Regions from separate parts of the Homo sapiens genome. Here region 1 is linked to region 2. The links are contacts of gene promoters, found by promoter capture Hi-C in blood cells and fetal thymus (Javierre and others, 2016). All regions are on one chromosome and are shown on one strand. The core of a region is centred on a gene start or on the middle of the fragment in contact, and the rest is flanking DNA. Distances in the headings are between cores, read along the strand shown. Region 1 has its middle 4.3 kb from the start of HELZ2. Region 2 holds the start of ZBTB46-AS1 (ZBTB46 antisense RNA 1).

Evidence for each region. Contacts are between HindIII fragments. The CHiCAGO score rates a contact against its expected background, and 5 or more counts as called.
Region 1: a contact is called between a fragment that was not itself captured here and the fragment with the promoter of ZBTB46-AS1 in region 2, in 1 of 17 cell types (M2 macrophages). The highest score is 5.2, in M2 macrophages.

The regions. Positions count from the first base shown.
Region 1 is chr20:63,574,733-63,582,299 of GRCh38, forward strand. No RefSeq gene overlaps it. Among named protein-coding and RNA genes, the nearest start is that of HELZ2, 4.3 kb to the left of the region's middle. RefSeq lists enhancers at 1-343, 6,398-6,577 and a silencer at 941-1,126. The HindIII fragment of the contact is 4,805 bases long and covers 1,669-6,473 here.
Region 2 is chr20:63,803,175-63,810,298 of GRCh38, forward strand. ZBTB46-AS1 (ZBTB46 antisense RNA 1) reads left to right here and starts at 4,902. Exons shown (of 3, transcript NR_110081.1): 1 at 4,902-4,981. All of the region lies in intron 1 of ZBTB46 (zinc finger and BTB domain containing 46), which reads right to left. The HindIII fragment of the contact is 29,160 bases long and covers 1-7,124 here.

The sequences.
Region 1 (7,567 bases), core at 2,821-5,320, 230 kb before region 2:
TTGGCTCTCTGGACTGGCTCTGGGCCCTCAGCAGCCCTGTGGGGAGGCCCCATAGAGGAGCTGAGGCCTCCAGCCCACTTGCAGCTCGAGTCCCAGCCCCAGCCTTACTGCCATCTCAGGGAGACCCCAGGCCTAACCCTCCCACCTAGACCACGCCCAGCTGTTAGATGTCTATGTTTAAAATAAACGTCCCATTAGCCAGGGGTGGGGGCGGGCGCCTGTAGTCCCAGTTACTCGGGAGGCTGAGGCAGAAGCATTGCTTGAACCAAGGAAGTGGAGGTTGCAGTGCGCCAAGATTGCGCCACTGCACTCCAGCCTGGGCAACAGAGCAAGACTCCATCTCAAAACAAATAAATAAATAAAATAAACATCTGTGTTGTTTTAAGCCCCTGAGCTTTGGGGCGATCTGTTCTGCAGCAGTAGATAACGGACAGTGATGCTGCCCCTGAAACAAGGAAGCAAGGCTGCCACCCAAGGCCAGCACCTCGTGGGGAGGGCCAGGCTGGGGGCTCACAGCGACCTCGGGAGGTCGGCTGGGTGGGCCGTCAACCACCAGGGAGCCTCTCCGCAGACCAATCACGTTGGAGCTCCTGGGAGAGGGCAGGCCCTCGACAATAGCAGCCCCAGGGGCCGGGCGCTGAGCAGGGTCCATGTGCGTGGAACGCTGGGAGAATTTGTGTGGAACGCTGTGTTCCTGGATGGAGAGGCTCAACACCACACAAAGACGTGAGTTCCTCCTAAACTAACCTGCAGTCGCATGGTGGACACACTGACTTTCAAGTCCATTTGGAAAAGCATCACATCACCAAGAAAGGCTGGACAGGGCTTTTTTTTTTTTTGAGACTGAGTCTCCTTCCATTGCCCCGGCGGGAGTGCAGTGATGCAATCACAGTTCACTGCAGCCTCGACCTCTGGCTCAGACAGTCTTCCCCCCTCAGCCTCCTGAGTCGCTGGGACTACAGGCACACACCACCACAGTACAGGTGCACACCACCACAGTTAACTATTTTGGAGTTTTTTCTATGTTTTTCAGAGATGGGGTTTCTCAATGTTGCCCAGGCTGCTCTTGAACTCCTGGGCTCAAGCAAACCCCCCACCTCGGCCTCCTTGAGTGCCGGGATTAGATTACAGGCTTGAATCCCAACACCCAGCCCAGGATGATGACTAAAAAGGATTCCCAGCGGGTGCTGGCATGACTTACTAAACACATAACACACTGCAAAGCCACTGAACCCGGTGTGGACACACAGTTCCAAGGCAGAACAGAGAGTCCAGAAATAGAGTCACACTCAGGAGTCTGGGGTGGGATGAAAGATTGGCTCTCGGCCAGGCGCACTGGCTCACGCCTGTAATCCCAGCACTTTGGGAGGCCAAGGTGGGCAGATCACCTGAGGTCAGGAGTTCGAGACCAGCCTGGCCAACATAGTGAAACCCCATCTCTTCTAAAAATACAAAAAAAAAAAAAAAAAATAGCTGGGCGTGGTGGCAGGTGCCTGTAGTCCCAGCTACTCAGGAGGCTGAGGCAGGAGAATCCCTTGAACCTGGGGTCGGGGGGGGCGAGGCGGAGGTTGCAGTAAGCTGAGATCACACCATTGCACTCCAGCCTGGGAGACGGAACGAGACTCTGTCTCAAAAAAAAAAAAAAAGAAAGAAAAGAAAAGAAAAGAAAGCTTGGCTCTCACACCTCAGGGAAAAACAATTCATTGATGCATTCCACAAATTATTAGAACAACTGATTAGCAGCATCTGGAAACAAAAATGGGAGGGACGGTCTCTGCGTAGCATCTTACACCATATGAAATAATCAAACACTCTCACGGAAGGAAAAGCCAACCACAGAGGCACTAGGAGAAACCAGGGCTGAAAGTGTCTGATTCTCAGGACTCTTGGGATGTGAAAGGCCTTTCTAGGTGAAATCCAGCCCTGCGCCACTCGCCCCCAGCCAGGCTCAAGGACAGGGCTGGTGGCTTCACACATGCCGTGAGGGGCAAGCATACACCCCAGAAATCCACAAAACCTGTCTCCTGAAGCACTGTTTTTTTCTTCTTAGAGAACGAATTAAACATCTACCAGCACAACAGTGATAAATTCAATGACACAAAACAATTTCACATGGAAAAAAACACCACCATCAAAGGAGTCAAAAACCAAACATGAACAGAAAACAAAATTGCAGCTTATGTCACAGTGAAAAGTCTGATCGCTCTGATATATATTTTTTTTTCTTGAGACGGAGTCTCACTCTTGTCACCCAGGCTGGAGTGCAGTGGCACAATCTCGGCAAGCTCCACCTCCCGGGTTCACGCCATTCTCCTGCCTCAGTCTCCCAAGTAGCTGGGACTACAGGCGCCCACCACCACGCCTGGCTAATTTTTTGCATTTTTAGTAGAGACGGGGTTTCACCGTGTTAGCTAGGATGGTCTCGATCTCCTGACCTCGTGATCCACCCACCTCGGCCTCCCAAAGTGCTGAGATTACAGGCGTGAGCCACCGCGCCTGGCCCTGATCTCTCTAATATTTTAAAGATCTTATAAATTAAGAAAAAGATGTATAATTTAAAAGAAAAATAGGCAAAGGATGCAAATCAATACTTCACAAAACGTGGAAAGTGAAATTGCTGTAAATGGAGTGAAGTGTTCAACCTCGGCGTAAGGGAAACGCAAACCAGCCCCAGACAACCCGTCCACCCCTCTGACATTGCAGGCACTCGGCCAGAGTCTAAACTGGCAGCACCGCTCTGGAAACCAGCCAGGCCCGGGAGCACAGGACACGCGCCTTCCACGTGGCTCCACAGAGGCTCCTGCACAGAGGGACATCTGTGCCCACCAACAGCTCCCGGCAGCTCCTTCTACACCCAATGGACCGGGAATGCCCAGGGCCCCTCGCTCAGGGTCTATGTAATGGGCAGTCTCCACCCTGTGCCATGGAAGACTCTAAGGCCATTAAAAATGAGGTTGGCCAGGCACGGTGGCTCACACCTGTGATCCCAGCAATTTGGTAGGCTGAGGCGGGAGGATCACTTGAGCCCAGGAGTTCAAGACCTCAGTAAGCTGTGATGGTGCCAGTGCACTCCAGCCTGGGAGACAGATCAGGACTGTGCGGCCAGGACAGGAGGGAGATGTCCTGTTTCCGCCCACCTTTCACATCTGTGCACGTCTTCTTAACTCAAAACAAAAACAAAAAGTGCCACCTCGAGTCCACAGAGCATTGAAAACCTGCAGGTTGCCGTGGACAGCTCTCTGGCTCCCGTCCAGCTGTGCTCAGGCCACAGTGACCCCTAACACGGGCTGAGTGTGAGACCACGGGAGAGAGTTCCACGTACACACAGCACACGGCCAACACGCTCACACGGGCTGAGTGTGACACCACGGGACAGAGTTCCACGTACACACAGCACACGGCCAACAACACGCTCACACGGGCTGAGTGTGAGACCACGGGACAGAGTTCCACGTACACACAGCACACGGCCAACAACACGCTCACACGGGCTGAGTGTGAGACCACGGGAGAGAGTTCCACGTACACACAGCACACGGCCAACAACACGCTCACACGGGCTGAGTATTAGTAATATTATTGTATCCACGTCAGCTTCCTGACTTTGTAACAGACAGCTTCCACGTTCTGAGGAAACACACCTTGAAGTGATGGGGTAAAGGGTGAAGGGTGAAGGGTGAAGGGGTATCGTATCTGAAAGGTGAAGGGGTATCGTGTCTTAGTCTCAATTGCCTGGAACTACAGGCTTCTACAGAACCGGCAAATGGGCCAGAACAAAGCGACTGGTGAGTCCGCATAGAGCACAGGGAGTCCTTTGTTCTATTTTTGCAACATTTGTGTACGTTTGTTTAAATTATTATATCAAAATACAAAGTAAGAAATGTCTGCCCAACACCCTCAGCTTGTCTCATCCCGGTCCCTAGGTCCTCCTCACCCAGCGTCCCTGCCAGTGGGTTCCATGGCCCCCCAGTGCCAGCCTGCCGTCTGCTGCCCTCTGCCGTCTGCCATCACCTGAACCCTGCAGGAAAACGTACACACTGTCCCCAGCGTCACGAAGCAGGTGGAGGTCCCCAGGGCTTAGGGCCAGGCCTCAGTTTACCTGTGACTGTGGGCCATGTGCTCTCGGGCAGGAACTGACGGCCTCTGGGTATAACTCGCTTAAGCAGGTCTTTAACACCCGGTTCCCATCTTTCCAGAGACCCTCCCGGGCGCCCTCCCACCAGCCAAAAGCTCACACCCCTAGTGGAGGAGGTGATAGGGTCTGCAGTGGGAGGGAGTGGAGCCGATTTCAGATCTCCTCCTCTTGGCCTTGTGGGAGCCGTGCAGCCGGGAGGCCTCCTTCGAGATGAGCCCCTGGGGAGAAAGTCAGGGGGACCACACCTTCTCCTTGCAGGGGTGCCAGAAGGATCTGATGGGGGTTTAGTCCCAGGATGGGTCTACGCCCCCCGGGGCCTCCCAGCTGCTCTGTCCTCTCTCCCTGCCTGGCCTCTGCACACACAGCCATGTGCGTGTGACATTGTGAAATATACATTAACATATTTGGTCTCGTCCCGTTTCCTGGCAAAAACCCCTAAAATCCCTGGAGTAGCCAAAGTGGCAAGTGCCTTTTTGTGCTGATATTGACCGAAGGCTGGCAGCCTGGAGGCAGCCTCAGGATGGGGCTGGTCCTCAGAAAGGCCTCAGCAGGAGTAGAGGGTGGTACTTGCAGCCTTGCCCCAACCTCCAGGCAGGGGAGGGGAGAGGCGGCTGAAGGCGGTCCTCACCAGTGGCCAGTGACGTAATCAATCATGCCTGGGTAATGAAGCCTCCATGAAGTCGCAAAAGGACAGGGCTCAGAGAGCCGTGGAGGTTCCTGGACGGGGTGCCCTTGTGGGGTGAAAGCTCTGCGCCCCTCCCCTTACGCATCTCTTCATCTGCGTCCTTTGTAACGTCCTTTATAATAAATGGGTAAACATGTTTCCCTGAGTTCTGTGAGCTGCTCTAGGAAATTAATCTGACCCAAATATGGGGGTTAGGAACCTCAATTTATAGCCAATTGGTCTGAAGCACCCGGGGCTTGAGATTGGCATGGGGAGTGGGCAGCAGCCTTGTGTGGACATCTCCAGGTAGATGAGGATGTCTAAGGACAGATGGCGTCTCCAGCTAGATGGTGTCTCCAGGTAGACAACAACGTCTATGAATTGACGGTGTCTCCAGGTTAACAACAATGTCTCCAGGTTAACAACAATGTCTCCAGGTAGACAACAATGTCTATGAATTGATGGTGTCTCCAGGTTGACAACAATGTCTATGAATTGATGGTGTCTCCAGGTTGACAACAGTGTCTCCAGGTAGACAACAATGTCTCCAGGTTAACAACAATGTCTATGAAAAGACGGTGTCTCCAGGTAGACAACAATGTCTATGAATTGATGGTGTCTCCAGGTTGACAACAATGTTTCCAGGTTAACAACAATGTCTATGAATAGACGGTGTCTCCAGGTTGACAACAATGCCTATGAATAGATGGTGTCTCCAGGTTAACAATAATGTCTCCAGGTAGACAACAACGTCTATGAATTGATGGTGTCTCCAGGTTGACAACAATGTCTCCAGGTTAACAACAATGTCTATAAATTGATGGTGTCTCCAGGTTGACAACAATGTCTATGAATTGATGGTGTCTCCAGGTTAACAATAATGTCTCCAGGTTGACAACAATGTCTATGAATTGATGGTGTCTCCAGGTTGACAACAATGTCTCCAGGTAGATGATGGTGTCTATGGGTGGACAATGTCTCCAGGTTGATCTGGAATCCCTCCCACTGCAGACCCTATCACCTCCTCCACTCAAGGTGTGAGCTTTTGGCTGGTGGGAGGGCGCCCGGGAGGGTCTCTGGAAAGATGGGAACTGGGTGTTAAAGACCTGCTTAAGTGAGTTATACCCAGAGGCCGTCAGTTCCTGCCCGAGAGCACATGGCCCACAGTCACAGGTAAACTGAGGCCTGGCCCTAAGCCCTGGGGACCTCCACCTGCACTGTGATGCTGGGGAGGGTGTGTGGGTTTTCCCGCAGGGTTCGGGTGATAGCGGACGGCACAGGGCAGCAGACAATGGCTCCAAGTAGACGTCTCTAGGTAGATGGTGTCTTCAGGTAGATGGTATCGGAATTAAACTGGAGCACGCCCAGCCGGCGTCGGCTGCAAAACTGACTAATCTGTTGTTGGAACAGAACCCCCACCTGGTGTCAGCAGTGAGCTGTGCTGTGAGAGTGCAGGAGAAACAGCCTAGTTTTCTGACATCATTAGAGGTGATGAGCCACCTTCTCAGCCCCTGCTCACCTCTCCCCCACACTGAAGCCTGCTGGAGCCCTCAGGCCAGGCCCTGAGCAGGAGGCATGGGGTAGGTGTTGCAGGATCTAAAAGGCCTCCCAGGGGCAACAGAGAGCCTGGCCAGGGGCTGTGCCTTTCTCTGCTTGCCCCCACAGCACCCCCAAAGCTTGAGGCTTGATCAGATATCCCTGAGGTCTCCTGGCAGGGACCTTCCTAGTCCTCACTGGCCCCCAGTGTCCCTCTGCCATGTGGCCGCCTCTCCGGGATGACAGGGGGAGGGGCCACACTCCTGCTGGGGCTGGAGATGTTGGGGTCTGGAGTGGGTGTGGGCCTGCCCTGGGGCTGCTCTGGGCATCTGGTTGACACAGAGCCAGGTGCCTGTGCGCCCCGTGGGGCAGCTGTGCCCAGCCTGGCTGCCCTGGAGGAGGGAGCCAAAACCTGGGCCTTTCCACCCAGCCTTCCGGTCTCCCCTCTTCTCCCTGGACATACAGGAATGTGGCTTGCTCCTGACGCCCAGAAGTTCAAGTCCAGAACGTTACTGCAGATGTCGGGAGAGACAAGACAGGACAGAAGGGAGCCTGGGTCAGACCCAGGTCTGCGGTCTGTTGGTCCCCGAAGGGCCTGAGGCGGGGAAAGGACAGTCTTCAACAAGTGGCAGCTGGAACACGGAGTAAAGTTTCGGGAAAAACGAAGCTCAGCCCCACCTCGCATTGCACACAAAATTTAATTCAAGATGGAACATCTAAGCATCAAAGCTAAACTGTAACGCTTCTAGAAGAAAACAGGAGAAATCTTCACAACCTTGGGATAGGCATATATTTTTTTCTTTTCTTTTCTTTTTTTTTTTTTTGAGACAGTCTTGCTCTGTCGCCCAGGCTGGAGTGCAGTGGCGTGATTTTGGCTCACTGCAAGCTCTGCCTCCCGGGTTGATGCCATTCTCCTGCCTCAGCCTCCCGAGTAGCTGGGACTACAGGCGCCCACCACCACGCCCAGCTGATTTTTTGTATTTTTAGTAGAGACGGGGTTTCACCATGTTAGCCAGGATGGTCTTGGTCTCCTGACCCTGACCTCGTGATCCACCCGCCTAGGCCTCCCAAAGTGCTGGGACTACAGGCGTGAGCTACCGCACCCAGCCGGCATATATTTCTTTAAAAAGACATAAAAGGTAGAAATATAAGAGAAAAAAATTGATAAACAAGGTTATATAAGTAAAAAATGTCTGTACCAGTGAGAAAAATGAAAAGTCAAGCTATTAGTT
Region 2 (7,124 bases), core at 3,652-6,151:
ACCAGTGTGGGCACCATCCCCCAGGGCGCCTCACCAGCAGGAACCAGGCACCTCCCCTCACACCAAGGCGTTCATGGTTTACCTTCTTCTGAAAAAATTAAGGTTAAGACATGAATACTGTGAAACTGTCGTACAAATTAAATTTCATATACATCATATTACCATTGTTCGTGGTCGCATTTCAAAATTTTTAAGTGAGCTCCTGACTAGAAAACACTCCAAGACATGTTAGCAGAGTCGTCTTTCGACAGCGAGACCGGTGGTACTATCCACATCATCTCCAGTGAGCAAGTGGGTGCTGGCGATGAGGACTTTAGGTTTTCCACATGGCAGCCCCCATGTGGCCATCTGAAGATGCAAAGCCATGTCTGCCGGCCCCGGGCTGCCCAGGCCCCGGGCTGCCCAGGTCTCTGTCGGAGGCCCTGCCAGCCCCGCCCCTCCCTGCCCACTGGCCCCTTTCAGTTCCTTCATCTCCAGCCCGGCTCTGACGCCCAGGCCGCCTCCTCCGCCTTCCCGAACCTGGCTACCGTCACTTCCTTCTTTTTGTTTTTGTAATGGGGTCTCACTCTGTCCCCCAGGCTGGAGTGCAGTGGCGCAATCTCGGCTCACTGCAGCCTCAACCTCCCAGGCTCAAGGCATCCTCCCACATCAGCCTCCTGAGCAGCTGGGACCACAGGGGCACGCCACCACACGGGCTAATTTTTTTGTTTTGTAGAGACGGGGTTCTGTCGTGTTGCCCAGGTTGGTCTTGAATTCCTAAACGAACCTGCCGCCCTGGCTTCTCAAAGCGCTGGGATGATAGGCGTGAGCCACTGCACCGACATAACGTCACTTCCTTCTGTCGGGCGTCCCCAGCCAGAGCCCAGCACGCTTCCCCTTTCCAAACACCTCTCACTGCCCTGCGCTGTCCCATCTCAGCCCCAGCCACCAGGGTCTCGGTGGGCTGTGGGGTCCCTGAATGGAGGGGCTTCCACTCCCACCTCAGCAGCTCCAGGCCTCAGCATCCCTCCAGCTCCAGCCAGGTGCCCACCAGTCACACGCAGGGGAAGCCTGGAGCAGTGCCTGGCTCGGGCCATGTGTGAGGGTGGCAGGGGTGCCTCCAGATGGGCACAAGGTGCTCTGGGCACCCAGGAGGGGGCCGGGGCAGCTGAGCTCCTAGTCTGTCATTTGGGTTATAGATGACACAGTGGAACAGGTCAGATCTGTAAAGGCGAATCCTGCCATGAATCACAACAGCAGTCCTGAGCCCTCTCAGCCAATGGACACAGCCTCCCCCTCCTCCAGGAAGCCCTCCCGGGCGTCACTGTTCTTACACTGACAGCACACATGCCACCTCGCTGCCTGACACTGCCCTGCCCTCCTCTCAGCCCAGGGACCACATCTCAATGCTGGACAGGCCCAACACATACACTTGGGGTCAACAAAACTACAGTACCAGGCCGGGCACGGTGGCTCACGCCTGTAATCCCAGCACTTTGGGAGGCCAAGGCAGGTGGATCACCAGGTCAAGAGATCGAGACCAGCCTGGCCAACATGGTGAAACCCCGTCTCTACCAAAATTAAAAAAATTAGCCAGGCGTGGTGGGGGGCGCCTGTAGTCCCAGCTACTCGGGAGGCTGAGGCAGGAGAATCGCTATAACCTGGGAGGCGGAGGTTGCAGTGAGCTGAGTTGGCACCACTGCACTCCAGCCTGGGCAACATAGTGAGACTCCGTCTCAAAAAAACAACAACAAAAAAAACCTACATGACTTTTTTTTTTTTTTCTCAGAAGGAGTCTCGCTCTGTTGCCAGGTTGGAGTGCAGTGACACGATCTCAGCTCACTGCAACCTCCACCTCCCGGGTTCAATTGATTCTCCTGCCTCAGCCTCCTGAGTAGCTGACATTACAGGCTCACACCACCATGCCTGGCTAATTTTTGTATTTTTAGTAGAGACGGGGTTTCACCACGTTGGCCAGGATGGTCTCGATCTCTTGACCTCGTGATCCGCCCACCTCGGCCTCCCAAAGTGCTGGGATTACAGGCATGAGCCACCACGCCCGACCTACAGTACCTTTTGAAAATTAAATCTGTAATACTGATTTACAGTATTTCAAAAATGTCTCATACTAAGTGCTGATAGAAGGTAAAATGAAACAGCAGCCGGGCAGTGTGGTACACACCTCTAATCGCAGCACGTTGAGAGGCTGAGGCGGCAGAATCACTTGAGCCCAGGAGTTGCAGGCTGCAGTCAGTGAGCTCCGATTGCACCACTGTGCTCTAGCTGGAGTGACAGAGCAAGACCCCCATCTCTAAAGGAAAAAAAAAGACACAGGGAGGAGAGAAGGTCATGTGACCACAGGCAGAAACTGGAGTGACAAAGTCACAAGCCAAAGGATGCCTGGAGCCACCAGGAGCTGGAAGAGGCAGGAAGGACCCTGCCTGGAGTCTCCAGAGGGAGCATGGCCCTGAGACACCCTGAGTTCCAGCGCTGGACTCTGGAACTGAGAGGAGACACCTCTGCTGCCGCGAGCTGCCCAGCAGGTGGTACTTTCACAGCAGCCCCAGGAAACTAATACACAAAGCCATGCATCAGCTTTTTTTTTTTTTTCCTTTTTTTTGAGACGGAGTCTCGCTCTGTCGCCCAGGCTGGAGGGCAGTGGCACGATCTCGGCTCACTGAAGCCTTCGGCTCACTGCAACCTCCGCCTCCTGGGTTCAAGTGATTCTCGTGCCTCGGCCTCCCCAGTAGCTGGGATTATAGGTGTGTGCCACCACACCCGGATAATTTTTTTGTATTTTTAGTACAGACAGGGTTTCACCATGTTGGCCAGGTTGGTCTCGAACTCCTGACCTCAGGTGCTCTACCCGCCTCCGCCTCCCAAAGTGCTGGGATTACACGCATGAGCCACCATGCCCGGCCCCAACTTTTAAAAATATTATAATTTTCTCAGAAAGCTAATCAGCTGGCTGGGAAAGGTGGCTCACGCCTGTAATCCCAGCATTTTGGGAGGCTGAGACGAGCGGATCACCTGAGGTCAGGAGTTCGAGACCAACCTGGCCAACATAGTGAAACCCCGTCTCTACTAAAAGTTAAAAAAAAAAATTAGCCTGGCATGGTGACGGGTGCCTGTAATCCCAGCTACTCGGGAGGCTGATGCAGGAAAATTGCTTGAACCCGAGAGGCAGAGGTTGCAGTGAGCCGAGAACATATCACTGCACTCCAGCCCAGGCAACAACAGTGAAACTCCATCTCAAAAAAAAAAAAAAAAGAAAGAAAAGAAAGCTAATCAGCTTAACAAGGCAAGAAAACTATTTGTGTACATTTTAAATCTGAGATACTGCTATGGCTAACTCTGACCTGAAATGGTAACTTCAAAAAAAATAGAACCTAAATAAGAAGGTTGTAATACCTGCTTAAAATAAAGGCAACACTATGCTCTCAAGGAATATGATGGAATCTTTCTCTTTTTTTGAGATGGAATCTGGCTCTGTCACCCAGGCTGGAGTGCAACGGTGCGACCTTGGCTCACTAAAACCTCCACCTCCCACGTTCAAGCGATTCTCCTGCCTCAGCCTCCCATGTAGCTGGGACTACAGGCGCCCACCACCACGCCCAGCTAATTGTTTTGTTTTGGTTTTTTTTTTTGAGATGGAGTCTCGCTCTGTCGGCCAGGATGGAGTGCAGTGGCGCCATCTCGGCTCACTGCAAGCTCCGCCTCCCAGGTTCACGCCATTCTCCTGCCTCAGCCTCCTGAGTAGCTGGGACTACCAGCGCCCGCCACCACACCCGGCTAATTTTTTGTATTTTTAGTAGAGACGGGGTTTCACCGTGTTAGCCAGGATAGTCGCGATCTCCTGACCTCATGATGCACCTGCCTCGGCCTCCCAAAGTGCTGGGATTACAGGCGTGAGCCACCACGCCTGGCCAGGATTGGTGTTAATTCTTAAAATGTTTGATAGAATTCAACAGTGAAGTGATATATACAATCATATACATATATAGAGAGAGACAGAGATGGACTTTTCTTTTGTTGGAAGTTTATTGACTATTGATTCAATTTCTTTATTGAAATTGACTTTTCTTTTTGGAAGCTAAAAAGTACAATAACTGTAGTGAAAGTTTCTGAACTTTTCTTTCATTGGAAGTTTTTTGACTACTGATTCTTTATTTGTTATAGGTCTATTCAGATTTTCTGTTTCTTCTTGAGTCAGTTTGGTCTCGCTCTGTCACCCAGGCTGGAGTGCAGTGGCGCCATCTTGGCTCACTGCAACTTCTACCTCCCGAGTTCGAGTGATTCTCCCACCTCAGCCTCCCCAGTATCTCGGACTACAGGCGCACGCCAGCATACCTGGCTAATTTTTGCATTTTTAGTAGGAACGGGGTTTCACCATGTTGGCCAGGCTGGTCTCGAACTCCTGGCCTCAAGCAATCTGCCCGCCTCGGCCTCCCAAAGTGTTGGGACTACAGGTGTGAGCCACCGCGCCCGGCCTTCAGCTACTCCATTTTTTAACATTTTGCCGCATTTGTTTACATCAAGCAATATGATAGAATCCCTAACCAGTTACTTTTTGCTTAAAAGCTGTACTAGGCCAAAACAAGCGAAGCACCCGTCTGTGTGAGGCAGCGGGTCTGGCTTACAGGCGGCGCCTCAGGGCTCGCTCCCCCTCCGAGCGGGTCTCACTCCCAGAGCGGGGCTCGCCCGGTGTCTGGCCTCCGAGGCCGTGTGCCCAAGTCCCCACCTTGTGCGGCACAGGCCCTTCCCACAGGGGACACTCACGGAAGCTGAACGGACCTTCCCACAGGAGACACTCACGGAAGCTGAACGGACCTTCCCACAGGGGACACTCACGGAAGCTGAACGGACCTTCCCACAGGGGACACTCACGGAAGCTGAACGGACCTTCCCACAGGGGACACTCACGGAAGCTGAACGGACCGACGGAGGTGGCGTGGATGAGCAGCAGCCGCCTGAGCAGTGAGGAAACCCCGCGGACAGCGCGGTAAGGACCCCACCCAGATTACTGGATTTCACCACCGGCCGCCTTCGATGGAGGAGTCCTCAGTCTCCACATCCGCACGGCACAGACGGAGGGGGGGCCCATGGGGCCCCAGCGATGAACCTGTCAGGGGTCCCCTGTACCCTGTAGGCCAGTCAAGCCATCCTTCCCAGCCCTTGCCCCGGGGGCTGAGCGCAGGGGAGGGCCCGGAAGGCAGACGCCACGGAGCCCGGGGCTTCAGGGGGGCGTGGGGCGGAAGCGGGGCCAGGGCGGAGGTCACGGACAGGGTCATCCGGACCCACAAGGAGTCTCAGCCCCGGGCCCGGCGGGAGGGAAGGGGGAAGCCAGGCTCTTCCTCCTAGGGCAGGGCCTGGGCTCCGGGGCAGTGTGACCTCCCGCCCCTAAGCGAGTCCTGCCTCCCCATGAGACCTGAGCTCCTCCAGCGTGGGTGGGAGGCGGACAGAGCCTCCCCCAGAGAAGGCCCTCCTCGGTCCAGCGCTCGGCCAGGACAGGCGCCAAGGCCGCCTTAAGAAATAAAACCAGCAGGCGCGGTGGCTCACGCCTGTAATCCCAGCACTTTGGGAGGCCGAGGCGGGCGGATGGTGAGGTCAGGAGATCAAGACCATCCTGGCTAACATGGTGAAACCCCGTCTCTACTAAAAAATACAAAAAAAAATTAGCCGGGCGTGGTGGGGGCGCCTGCAGTCCCAGCTACTCGGGAGGCTGAGGCAGGAGAATGGCGGGAACCCGGGGGGCGGAGCTTGCGGTGAGCCGAGATGGCGCCACTGCACTCCAGCCTGGGCGGCAGAGCGAGACTCCGCTTCAAAAAAAAAAAAAAAAAAAAAAAGAAAAAGAAAAAAAAAAAAGAAAGAAAACTCCATGATTCATGAGGTAAGACCTGGGAGCTGGCGGCTCGGTGCTCCGGTGCTGCAGAGGCACTCAAGGGGCTCTCCACGTTCGCCTTCCACGTTCCCCTTCGCAGGGACCGCAGCGCCTGGGGCACTTCGCCATGGGCTTGGCCGAAGTGGGCACTAAAGGTGCAGACTCGGTGGAGCCAAGGGGGGCAAGGTCAGCAGCCCTGGGGGCGCAGCCCTGGGGGCCCCGCCGTGGGCCACGCCCAGCGCGTCCAGTCCTCATGGCCGCGTCTATTCCAGGAATGGGGTCCTGGGGTTCGGCACAGGCCTGCTGGGGTGGTGGCCCCACATCTTGCCTGTGTCCCCCCATATTATGCCCAAGGGAGCAACAAAGGCCACCCCTGGGTCCAGGCCTCAGGAGCTCACAGGAGCCCTGAGCCCAGAAGACAGCAGCGCCCTCACGCGGTCCTCAGCAAACCTGCCAGAGCCCAGCAGGTGGAGAGGACTCCGGGAGACAGCAGGAGCTCCGCGACCTCCCTTCCTCTCCCCTCTTCTCCCTTACGAAGTTAGCCGTGTGGTGGCCAGTGTGGCTTAACTCAATGATACAATTTTAAAGATTTCTGGAAAGGACTTAAAAGACACGTGCTTAACTCTGAGAAAAGATTTCAAGGCCAGGCCAGAATGGTGGCTCATGCCTGAAATCCCAACGCTGAGGGAAGCCGGGGCGAGCAGATGGCTTGAGCCCAAAAGTTCAAGACCAGCCTGGGCAACATGGTGAGACCCCATCTCTACAAAAAATAGAAAAAATTAGCCGGGCATGGTGGTGCACACCTGTAGTCCCCGCGACTCTGGAGGATGAAGTGGGAGGATCCCTTGAGTCGGGAGGTCGAGGTTGGAGTGAGCCAAGATGGCACCACTGTACTCCGGCATGGGTGACACAGCAAGGCCCTCTCTCAAAAAAAAAAAAAGAAAAGAAAACTCTAAATACATGGAACTGGCAAACATTAACGTAATGTCAATTACAAAGGTGGCCGTGACACAGGAGGCCCAGAGTGGGGCGGCCCTTGAAGCAGCCTGCAGCGTGGGGATGAGGCCTACAGATGCCTCTGCCTCTTTGACTAATTCCACTTCTGAGACTCTGCCCCAAGGAAATAACCCAAAAAGCTAATTGGTTCCAAGATGTTCCAAGCACTGCTATGGCTAACAGTGACAAACAGAAAAAGACCCAAACACTCGACAATTCGAAGATGGCCCAGAAAACCGTCAAGTATTAAAACTGAGCAAAACCCAAT